Regions from separate parts of the Homo sapiens genome. Here all the other regions are linked to region 4. Evidence: promoter capture Hi-C in human tissues and cell types (Jung and others, 2019). All regions are on one chromosome and are shown on one strand. The core of a region is centred on a gene start or on the middle of the fragment in contact, and the rest is flanking DNA. Distances in the headings are between cores, read along the strand shown.

The links. The method cuts DNA at HindIII sites, captures the fragments that hold promoters and counts their contacts. A contact is called where the count stands out against the background at its distance.
Region 1: a contact is called between a fragment that was not itself captured here and the fragment with the promoter of NTF3 in region 4, in 2 of the 25 tissues and cell types used here (H1 embryonic stem cells and mesendoderm cells).
Region 2: a fragment that was not itself captured here is called in contact with the fragment with the promoter of NTF3 in region 4 in 1 of the 25 tissues and cell types used here (bladder).
Region 3: a fragment that was not itself captured here is called in contact with the fragment with the promoter of NTF3 in region 4 in 1 of the 25 tissues and cell types used here (aorta).

What each region holds. Positions count from the first base shown.
Region 1 is chr12:5,710,887-5,713,746 of GRCh38, forward strand. The region is part of intron 14 of ANO2 (anoctamin 2); the gene reads right to left. Among named protein-coding and RNA genes, the nearest start is that of ANO2, 230 kb to the right of the region's middle. The HindIII fragment of the contact is 3,942 bases long and covers 1-2,860 here.
Region 2 is chr12:5,060,380-5,063,244 of GRCh38, forward strand. No RefSeq gene overlaps it. Among named protein-coding and RNA genes, the nearest start is that of KCNA5, 18 kb to the left of the region's middle. The HindIII fragment of the contact is 3,669 bases long and covers 1-2,865 here.
Region 3 is chr12:5,814,093-5,816,792 of GRCh38, forward strand. The region is part of intron 7 of ANO2 (anoctamin 2); the gene reads right to left. Among named protein-coding and RNA genes, the nearest start is that of ANO2, 130 kb to the right of the region's middle. The HindIII fragment of the contact is 5,930 bases long and covers 1-2,700 here.
Region 4 is chr12:5,430,763-5,433,462 of GRCh38, forward strand. NTF3 (neurotrophin 3) reads left to right here and starts at 1,346. Exons shown (of 2, transcript NM_001102654.2): 1 at 1,346-1,580. The coding sequence starts at 1,563. RefSeq lists an enhancer at 2,163-2,688. The HindIII fragment of the contact is 6,917 bases long and covers 1-2,700 here.

The DNA of each region.
Region 1 (2,860 bases), core at 18-2,517, 280 kb after region 4:
CGCGGTGGCTCACACCTGTAATCCCAGCACTTTGGGAGGCCGAGGCGGGATCACGAGGTCAGGAGATCGAGACCATCCTGGCTAACACGGTGAAACCCCGTCTCTACTAAAAATACAAAAAATTAGCCGGGCGTGGTGGCATGTGCCTGTAGTCCCAGCTACTCAGGAGGCTGAGGCAGGAGAATGGCATGAACCTGGGAGGCAGAGCTTGCAGTGAGCAGAGATCGCGCCACTGTACTCCAGCCTGGGCGACAGAGCGAGACTCTGTCTCAAAAAAAAAAAAAAAAATTGATCCCTAATGTTGGAGGTAGAGCCTGGTGGGAGGTGTATAAGTCATAGGGGCAGATCCCTCAGGAATGTCTTGGTGCCATTCTCATGGTGATCAGCAAGTTCTCACTCTATTAGTTCATGTGAGAGCTGGTTAAAGAGACTGGGACCTCCCTCTGCCCTCTCTTGCTTCCTCTCTTGCCATGTAACAAGCCCGCTCCCTCTTCACCTTCCACCATGAAAGCTTCCTGAGGCCTCCCCAGCGGCCAAGCAGATGCTGGTGCCATGCTTGTACAGCCTGCAGAACCATAAGCCACATGAATCTCTTTTCTTTATAAATTACCCGGTCTCAGATATTCCTGTATGGCAATGCAAAACTAATTCATACAGAGGCCCAGAGAATAAAAATTGCAGGTCTCATATACGTAAGACACTTTAATTTACTGACCAGTTCCCCAAGACCTGCTCCTCTTTTTGAAATCCAAGCTCTCATTTGAAATATGGGGAATCCAGACAGTGCCTGTACATGCTCAAAAATGTGAAACTGCTCCCTTTCAGCCACTTGGGAACTTTAAAAATAATGTGCACGCAATCATCATACATTAGACAATACAGACTAGAATGTAGATTAACGAGTTTGGGTTCCTCCCCATGATTTGTAATATTCCAAGGCCCTCCTTTGGATATTCCTTGAAATCAATTAGCCTAAAAATGTACTTCTGAAGCAAACAAAACTGCAGAAACAGACTTCTTGACTGAACAGGCTTTTCAGAGGTCATGGTGTCCAAATCCTATCTCCAAGCACACGTATATCAGCCCAAGTTAATGATAAGGACCTACTAACGGCCCTTAGGTAGTTATTTCTTACATTTAACCAAAATGTTGTGCCGAGCTGCAGTGAGGCCCTGTGCTAGAAGCCAAAGAAACAAGGTCAAACAGAAGCTCTCAAAGATAGTTCATCTTGAAGGAAAGATAGGAGTATCAATTAATGCTTTAAAACATCTATAGTAAAATTTCTCCTAAAAGGAATATACAGGTTGCTACAGGGTAGTAAGCAGTTGAATTGTGCTCCACCCACTAAATGATAGGCCCGGGTTCTAACCCCAGGAACCTGTGAATACGACCTGACTTGGAAAAAAAAAAAAAGTCTTTGCAAATGTAACCAAGTTAAGGATCTCAAGATGAGATCATCATGGATTTAGGGTAGGCCCTGAGTCTACTTCCCAGTGTCCTTGTAAGTGACAGAGGGGAGAAGAGACAGATACAGGAGAGAGCCATGTAAAGATGGAAGCAGCGATTGGAGTGGTTTAGCCACAATTTAAGAAATGCCTGGAGCCACCAAGGGCTGGAAGAGGCAAAGATGGATTCTCTCCTAGAGACTTCAGAGGGAACGTGGGCCTGATGACACCTTGACCTTGGACTTCTGGCCTCCAGAACTATGAGAGAATGAACTTGTGTTGTTTTAAGCCCTCCCGTTTGCAGTCACTTGTTGCAGCAGCCATGGGAGATGAATACAAGAGCCAAGAGCTAAGCCTGCCCAGAGAGTGAGAGATGACCTCCCAGAGCAGATGTCATTAGCCCTAAGTTTTCTAGGACAAGAAGGAGTGTGCTGGATAGAGAGAGGGAAAGCAGGTTCCAAGCAAAGAGGCTTTTGCATGTGCACAGCCACCAACGCATGACACACCAAGAGACGCTCAGAGAGCTGCCAGGAGCTGGGAAATGTTCGGCAGAAGAGGCTCATGTCAGGGAGTGGGAGGTGAAGTTGGAGAGGTGGGCCACATAGAGCCTTGTGGGTAAAGCCAAGAAATTTGAAAATAATCTCCTAAACTCTGGAGAGCATGAGAGGATTTTAATCAAGGGAGTCACATAATCAGATCTGCATTCTGGATGGATACCTCTGACACAGTGTGGAGAATGGACTGGAAGGGGGCCTGACAAAGGAGGAGAGACCAGTTAGAGGGTCACTGAAGTAGGCCAGGCAAGTGGTGATGAGGCCCTGAACTCAGGGGATGAGCAGGAAGGGGTAAATACCAGAGATGGTGAGTGGTTCAACCCTGCCATGGTGCTCGTCGGGTGTGGCAAGTAAGAGGAAAGGAGCAATTCAAAACAGCTCCAAAGTTTCTGGTGTAGACAACTGGGTTGTTCAAAAGTGGTGTCATTTAACAAGAATGAACCACATGCATTTATTCTTGTTTTACTTCTTTAACATTATTTTTACTCCACGTATATAGATATGAGATAAACTTTAGTGTTTAAAGTTCTCTGTGGGTCTCGAAGTTCTTTAAACATTCCCTTCCAGAAAGCAGAGGGCTAAGTGATGGTTCCTGTTTGGAGGAACTTTGGCAGGTGGCTAAGGGCAATGCTAAATCCCCCCTACCCTGGGTGCCAACATTGTCATCGGCATTGTGACAACACAGGAATTAAATAGCCAAGAGGGGTCAGTGTAAAAACAGAAAGTTTATAGACCTTCCTGGAAGAAAGCTGGACGATGACACACGGTGGGCTCTGGGGAACTGGGAACTCCTGGCTTGTTTATAGAACTGTTGTTACCAAGACTCACACTGGCAGTCCAACCACCTTCCAGATTTCAAGT
Region 2 (2,865 bases), core at 131-2,630, 370 kb before region 4:
GCTGTTGTTGCTTGAGCAGAAGGTTGGCAAGCATGTGAGACTGTTTGTGGGAATTTTGTGAGCCAAATTTGGGAAGTCAAGTTGAGGCAGGCTGTGGTAGGCTTTGAACAAACTGAGGAATTTTGAACCGATGCTATACTTTAGGTGAAGACAGCTGTGGAGCTCTCATGAGAATTAAGGCCAGATGTGGTAGCTCACGCCTGTAATCCCAATGCTTTGGGAGGCTGGGGCAGGAGGATAGCTTGAGGCCAGAAGATTGACACTGACCTGGGCAACATAGCAAGACCCTATCTCTCTAAAAAGTAGAAAACTTAGTCAAGCATGGTGGCTTGCACCTGTTGTGCCAGCTAGTGCAAGGGATGGGAGGATCTCTTGTGCCCAGGAGATCAAGGCTGCAGTGAGCTGTGATAGGGTGACTGTACTCTAGTCTGGGTGACAGAGGGAGACCCCATCTCTAAAAAATGGAAAATAAAGCAGAGGGGAATTAACATAATGAAAGTGGTATTTTAGGAAGACTGGTGAGAATGGCATGTCGGAGAGCTGAGGCAGGGAAACCAGAGATAAGGTTTTGTCGTGGTGGAGGCAGGAGGAGGCTCCCACTCCCCCATCTGCTGCTCTGCCTGAGAAAGATTTCCCCTCCTCTCTGCTCACCTCCATTTCCGCACAGCTGCTGATGTTCCCCACAAATAGGCCTTCAGAGTGCTCTATCCAGCTCCTGCTAGCCTGTGGCCTGACTCCTCTACACCAGGGGGCCACGACCATGTCCAGGGTTGCCTGGGAGCACTCAGCAAATCCAAGCAAGCACATTTTCATAGCCAGAAGGAAGCCTGCCAATGTGCTGCCATCACAGGGAGGTACAAATATTTTGCTCTCTTACTATAAATGCTGATGGTGATTCTAGAAACAACTTGGATGTTTTAGGTCATAATTTATTTCTCCGTCCCATTCTGGGAAGGAAGGGAAGTTGTTGCCTCTTGTTTTAAATGGGAGACCCAAATCACATATTCAGTAATACCATGCTTATCTTTTGCTGGAAATTCACATGCTCGTGAAGGGCAGTGAGATGTTATGATATTTTTCCCTCTACGAGGTAGTTAGGGCTCCTGGAAAAGGAAAGGTTACTTTTACCAGGAGAGAGGGTGCCAGCTCCCTTGACCCCAGACCCAGGTGATACACCTATGCCAGATGGGAGTGTGTATGGGCATGGGGAGAGGGATGGGACGAGGGCTCTGGGGTATCTGCTGTCCTGTCATCTCCACATCTGAGGGATGGCTTCAGCCTCTGGAAACTGTGTCCATTGGATCTGACAACATGGGATGATCTCAGGAGTTTATCCAACCAGACAACCACAGAATCAGAGACTGTCAGAGTTGCAAGGGGTCTCAGAGTCCAACAATGGCAGTGTTCTCAAATTTCAGGATGTGTAAAAATCACTTGGGATGCTTCCAGAAATCAAGCTTACTGGGCCCTCTCCCCAGATCTTCTAGCTTACTGGGTCTCGGGAGTCTGCATTATTAGTTGGACCTCTTCATTGGAAGCACTAATGAATCTTGTCTGATTAAGCTCAGCAGGCAGAATTGCTCCTAGTACAGTAGGTTTTTGGAAAGCAAAGAAGGAGGCGGAATGACATCCTAGTGAGGGTCATCTGGTCGATCTGAGTGCTAAGCTCCAGCTCCCTATGGGGCCTTATGGTGGCACTCACACACTCTGCGCCCCTTCAGAAGGATTTCTCCTTACACCTCTTCCTTGAATATCCATGCCACCACCCTTACAATTTTGGCCTTTCTAGGTCCTTGACTAAGGAGTGAAAATATTGACAACTTTCTATTATTTTATAGAGGCTCTTATTTCAGATTATCTCCCTTTTAAGAAAAATGGATAGCCACTTTTCCATGGCTAGAGGTGACAATTTTCAATCATTTTAATTATACCTAACACATACACAGTGTTACCATGTACTATTATACATTCATCCCTTGTAATAACGCTGGAAAACTGGTGTCCTATTATGATTCCCATGTTACAGATAAGCTGGAACCCAGAGAGGTTAAGTAACTTGCCCAAGTTATATGGCAAGTCATGAATTACCTGGGATTGAAGCTTAGGCATTCTGGCTGCAAAGTTTGTCCTCTTCCAACCGTTGTATTTCACCTGAACTCTTCTTCTTTGGACAGGCTCTGAGTCCATGAACTGACTCAAGTGTGACATGCTAGACCTCTGGAGTTTTTTCCTCACTAAAATAGACTGCTATTGGGATGTCCACTTAATATCTTTTGGTCCTACATGCTTTAAGATCAGTTCTCCACTGCCAAAGGTCTCCATGGTTTATGTCCTGATTCCTTCAACAAGCTCATTGTCTCTAGTTATAAGGTCACTATCTCTAGGCATAGCCAAAACTTTTCTTAACAGTTATACTGCAGTTAGAAAATTATTTTTGTCTTAACTCTCAAAGTTGCCTCCTAGGATAAGTGTAAGGCATAGAACCTTTCCTCTATTTTACAAAAGACAAAATTAAAACTTCTCCCTTGGTTACCCACAATCTGCAAGCAAACTGTAGTTACCTAATATTTATTGAGCATTTATATTTGCCAGAGACTGTTTTAAGTGTGTGGTTTTGTTTTGTTTTGTTTTTGTAGAGACAGTTTCATTATGTTGCCCAGGCTGGTCTCAAACCCCTGGGCTCAAGCGACCTACTTGCCTTGGCCTCCCAAAGTGCTGGAATTACAGGTGTGAACCACCGTACCAGCCTTAAGTGTTTTCTGTGTACTATCTCATTCACTCCTCAAAACAATCAGGGAGTAGGTACTACTATTATTGCCATTTCGAACTATAAATGAGGCAGGAGAAAGATATTTGCCTAAGGTC
Region 3 (2,700 bases), core at 36-2,535, 380 kb after region 4:
GACCCCTGGCCTTCTGCCTAAATAGTCACCTGCTCAAGGTCACCTCCTCTACCCAATTCCACGTTGCAGTGACCTCTCTATCTTTCTGCAGGTCTAGGGATGATAAGAGCTCTACTATTGTTAATTCCAGGTTACAACGCCGTCCCTGGCATTCCCCAACTCCCTGCCAATCCCTTTGTAAATGGTTTCTCTATACATATGCCCACCTTGAATTACCCTAATTGGGGTGTGCTATTTGTTCCTATTGGGACCCTAACTGGTTATCTGGAATTGCCACCACCATGTCTTCTGTGTTATTTGCTTTCCTTGCATGTATCTGTCTTCTCACAGCCATGTGGCTTGCTCCCTGTTTTCCTCAAATATTACATCAGGAAGACCTTCTCCGACTACTCTATTTAAAATACCTTCCCACTCCCACTTCATTTTCATCTCCTTTATTTGCTCTATTCTTTCTCCTGACCCTTATCCCTACACGACATCCTATCCATTGTATTTACTTCTTGGTTTATTTTCTGTCTTCCGTAACTAGAAAGTAAGCCCCTTAAGGGCAGGAATTTGTGTCTGTTGGATTCACTACTCCATTCCCCAGGTCCACAACATGAATGTCACATAGTAAGTGCTCAGTAAATACGTGTTGAATGAGTGAATGGATGTTATACTGGGAAGGGCTCAGCTTCCACCTCTTCTGGGAAACTTTTTCCAATAACTTTATCCATTTCCTAATTAAATTAGTTAAAAAGCAATGACAAAGAGTCAAGAAACCTAAGTTCTAAACCCATTTCCAAAGTTCTAGCTGTGTGTATGCCAGTTAATCTCTCTGTTGTGAAGTTAATTAACATCTGCTGAAGCTACTTTGCTGGCAGTTTAAAGGATCAAATGAGATAATGAGCGTTAAGGTGTTTTGAAAAACATACAACTGCAAGCATGCAAGGAGTCCTTATTACTTTGGTGACAGTAACACCTCATTTATCAGAGGCCTCTTATCTGGTTATCTCAGCTCTCACAACAGAAAACCCAGAAACAAGAAAAAAATAAATGAGCAGCTAAAATAGATCTCACAAAACCTACTTTCTAATGCGATGTCCCTTTTCCACAGCAGAATCCTTCAGACCTCCTGCCATGCATTTTACACTCTCTTTACCCAAAATTCTAATGAGCTTGTTTTTCCATCTCCCACACTGCAAAGTGAAACTGAGATAGCAAAACTCGGGGAGGGAGGTTACCAGAGTCAAGAATTCAAGAAATCAGAGCAGTGTGGGGCAAACAATCCTAATAATGCTTTGATAATTCTTGAGAGAACATGAAAATCATTATGTTCTTAATGATGATCTTGAATAATCCAGAAAATTTGTCATACGCCTTTATGTGGAGAATATATGTAGACATGTTCTACATAAGACGCCTTTATGTGGAGAATATATGTAGACATGTTCTACATAAGCAAGCAGGAAATTGTGTGATAGACTTTAGAAAGATTTCTGTACAGAAAGATATTGCTGTAGGCAGCAAGAGCTACACCCCTGACCATATTCCCCCTTTCACTTTGGTTCAAGGTTAAATTTGCAGTTCAACTGTAGAAACTAGAAGACATTATGGTTTGCATATGTGTTCTATTTTCTTCCTCCTAGTTTTGACATTCTATTTTAATTTATTTTCTCTGGTTCTTATTTTTCAATTTATTTTTATACTATGCTGTCTTATTGTTTTTCTTGTAAGCTACCCCAGAAATTTTGTGGAACAAGGCAGGAATATAAATATATCACTACATACTACTTGTATATAGGTTAAAGCTTTGTAAAAGTAGGCATTCAATAAAAACGTATTGTCTACAAAGAAAAAAGAGACATTACTAGATAAACAGGAGTGTTTCCAAGTTATTACTATCTTTAGTATCTTTTCTATTTTCTAATATTTAAATTGGGTACAATGGGAAAGAGAATTAGCTTTGTAAGTTGGTTGCAAAAGAAATGACCATACAAAAGATAATCTGAGGGTGAAGGATCAATGAAAACACCTACGATTCCAAATCCAGTCCTGTTCTCCCTTTCTCTCTCTCTCTTTTTTTTTTTTAATGAGGAAACAACCTTCTGGAGGAATATAAGCCGATTCTAGTCACTCATGCTTCTCTTCCACCCCTTATAAGCCAGAAAGAAAGGCAATAAAATCTAAATTTACCCTGTGGCTCAGGCCTCCATATTATCTTGGGGCCTCATGGAGTTATCACATTCCTCATTTTTTTTTTATCTTCTAAATAAGATTGGTAAGTTCACCAAAGAGCTTAGAGGGCACTTGGTCTTCATGGGCAGAAGTCAACCCACTGGAAATCTGGCCTTTGGGTTCTCCTCTGCTGAGAAGTAGAGTTCAGTCACATGTCTCTTGTTACAAAGCTAGTAAGTCCTCAGTGGCTACTGTGAAGTTAACAGACTCTAAAGACTCAGCCTAATTCCACTCCTACTCTGTAGCATCCCAAAGGTATTGGAAATACGATTAGAGCAAGAGTACCCAAGTTCTAGACTCATTTCTGACTCAAGATGTAACCCTGGGCAAGTCACGTATCCTCTTTGTGCCCATCTGTAATTGGAGATGATCACTCCTGACATACGTAAGTTTCCTGGGAGCAATGATTTACATTGATACTTAGACATATAGAGACATACACATGGACATTAATTGCCTCCTCCCCTGTGTCCCAACTGCACT
Region 4 (2,700 bases), core at 96-2,595:
CGAACGACAGGGCAGGGAGGAAACGGGATACTCGCTGCCCTTCCCAGTCGCGCGTGAGTCAAAAGGTCCTGGCAGGAGATGATGTGAGGAGCGGCTGAAGTGGCAGGGAGGAAGGGATGAGGGGCTTGGAGCGGAGGTCCACCACGCAAGGACTCGGGAAGCGGGCAAGTGGGCAAAACTCTGCTTCCGGGCTCTCGATTTCTCGTTGATCACTAAGTGGTATTTTTCCCCCTTCTCTCGATGGCAAATGGGCGAAATCAAGATGACTTAACTTGGTAAATTTAGAGAGAACGGCTCGGAGCAAGTGAGGTCTAACGGGCAGCTAAAATTATCTCCAAATAAGAGATTTTGACCCCCTCCCCCTATCCTCTCCTCGAATGTATCCACCGGTGGGGAAGTGAGCGTCATTACTTTCGGGGCGCCACGAACAGGTTTGTTTGTTGCTCGCCTTTCCTGCTTCTCGCGCTGTCCCCGCGTGCAGACTGGTGGGTGCTGGGCGAGTGATTAGCTGCAGGGCCCCATCCTAGTTTGGAAGGAAGGGGTTTAGAAGTTGGAGGATGGGTGAAATGGGAGGCTGCGATCCATCTCCCTCTCCCTTCCACACTCAAGCTCCCGCAAACACGCGCGCGCACACACAGCCCCTCCCTAGTCCCTCGGACCACCCGCCCCCACGCCCCTCTACCTTGACCTCCCTTGACCGCCGACACAGCGTCCTGGGTGCGGGTCCCCGGGAGCGGGGAGTTCGCCGGGGAGCGATTGTCCTTGGGCGTGTTCGTGCTGTGGGGTGGGGGGAGGAGTGGCGGGTGGGCTTGGTAGGGGGTGGGGAGAGATCTGGAGCTGGAAGGGTCTAAGGTTTGGAGGAGGAGTTTACGCCTCAGACCTGATCCTCCTGAGGAAAAAGGCAGGAAAAGGCCCTGATGCCTTGTAAAGAAAATCTTGAAAGAAAAAAGATCAAAAAGAAAAATTTCAAGAAAAAGAACCACTAAGAAAGGCTGAAGACACTAACATGTAACCTGTTACGATACATTTAACGTTTCGTTTTTTCCTGGATCTCTAAAAGGGAACTCAAGGGTGGGGGTTACTGAAGAATACTACAGATTTGGAAGTTTTTGTTGCTGTTGTTGTTTGGTTTGGTTTTGTTTTTCAAGAGGGGCCAGGAGAAATGACCCCTTCCCCGCCACGGGTCCCGAAGTGAGGGCGGGGGGGGGGCTCTGGGGCGCGGGCGCGCGCGGCGCGGCGCGGGCCGGCGGGGGAGGGCGGCGCGGCGCGGAAGGGGTTAAGGCGCTGAGCGCGGAGCCATCTGGCCGGGTTGGCTGGTTATAACCGCGCAGATTCTGTTCACGGGACTCAGAGTTGAAGCTCCTCTCCCTTCCGAACAGCTCCGCGCACCGCCCCGCGACGCAGCCCGGCGCAACTACTTTCTTCTCTCTCCTTTCTTTCTTCCTCTCCTTTTTCCCCTGCTGGGTAGTGGCTGCGGCGGGGTGGGGGAGACTTTGAATGACCGAGCTCGCGTCCACCTTTCTCTTCATGTCGACGTCCCTGGAAACGGCCACACGGATGCCATGGTTACTTTTGCCACGGTAAGGGGAGGCGGCGGGCACCTTGGGTGGGCAGGTTTGGGGATGGGGGTCCACGTGGGGAGGGATTTTCCAGTGGACTGGTGCGGGGGGCCCCAGATCCGCATCCCGCCCCACCCCCATCGCGCCGCGCTCACTCACTTTCCCGGGCTTGTGTCTTCCCCAAAGTTTGCGCTGGGATCTGCTCAGGCCGAAGCGCAACCGCAGCCACCCCGCTACACACACACACACACACACACACACACACACACACACACACACACACACAGACACGGACACCCTTCTCCACCTCCTCCCCTCTTGTCCCTCGGCTGCCCAAGAAGCTTCCCTCAATCTGGGAAAGTGATCAGGTTTAAGGGACCTGGATTGGAAAGGGTGGGGGCAGAAGAGGGGAAATGGGGACGACGAAAGAGCAGGAAAGAGATTCAACAGAATCAACCACCCACCACTCCCAACCGACCCGCCTGCTCCTCCGAGAAAGCTCCTAGCGCATCCTATAACAAAAGGGGGTGGCAGACAGAACTCCGGGCGGGGAGGTGCCGCGGCAGCTCCCCTGCACACGCCCTGCACTCTGCCGGCCGCTGAGCCTGATTCTCAGCTCGCCCCAGCACCACTCTGGCCCGGGCGTGGGCTGGGGGGAGGGGACGCGCAGCTCAGGACCCGGAACCTCGCGTTCCAGTTTTGGGAGTTGGGACTCACTGCCACGCGCCGCGTACCTGCGTTGGAGTTCCCCGAAAGGGTTTTTTCAGAAAAGACCTCGCGCCCCGGGCTCCTCTTGGCCAGCGCCCACCCGGTGGCCACCCCACCCTGGGCCTTTGCGCAGATGTTGGAGCTCCGTACGCAGCCCGCACATCTGGGACCCCTCCGGGGAGCGGCGGGCACCCGGGCCCGGCCATCCCAGGGGATCTCCTTGCGGTATCGTCCAGCCTGTTCTCGGACTTTGAGCGGTGGCGTGGGAGGCCGGGAGACCTGGGCACCCGCGCAGCCAGCCAGGTCGGAGTTTAAAGGTCCCACGACGGACCGAACTGTCCCATTGCCCCAGAGCTTTACTCAGTGGTGGATGCTCCTGATGAAATTTGGGACGCTTGGGAGTTGAAGGTTAGGGACAGGAGGGGCGAGGGCC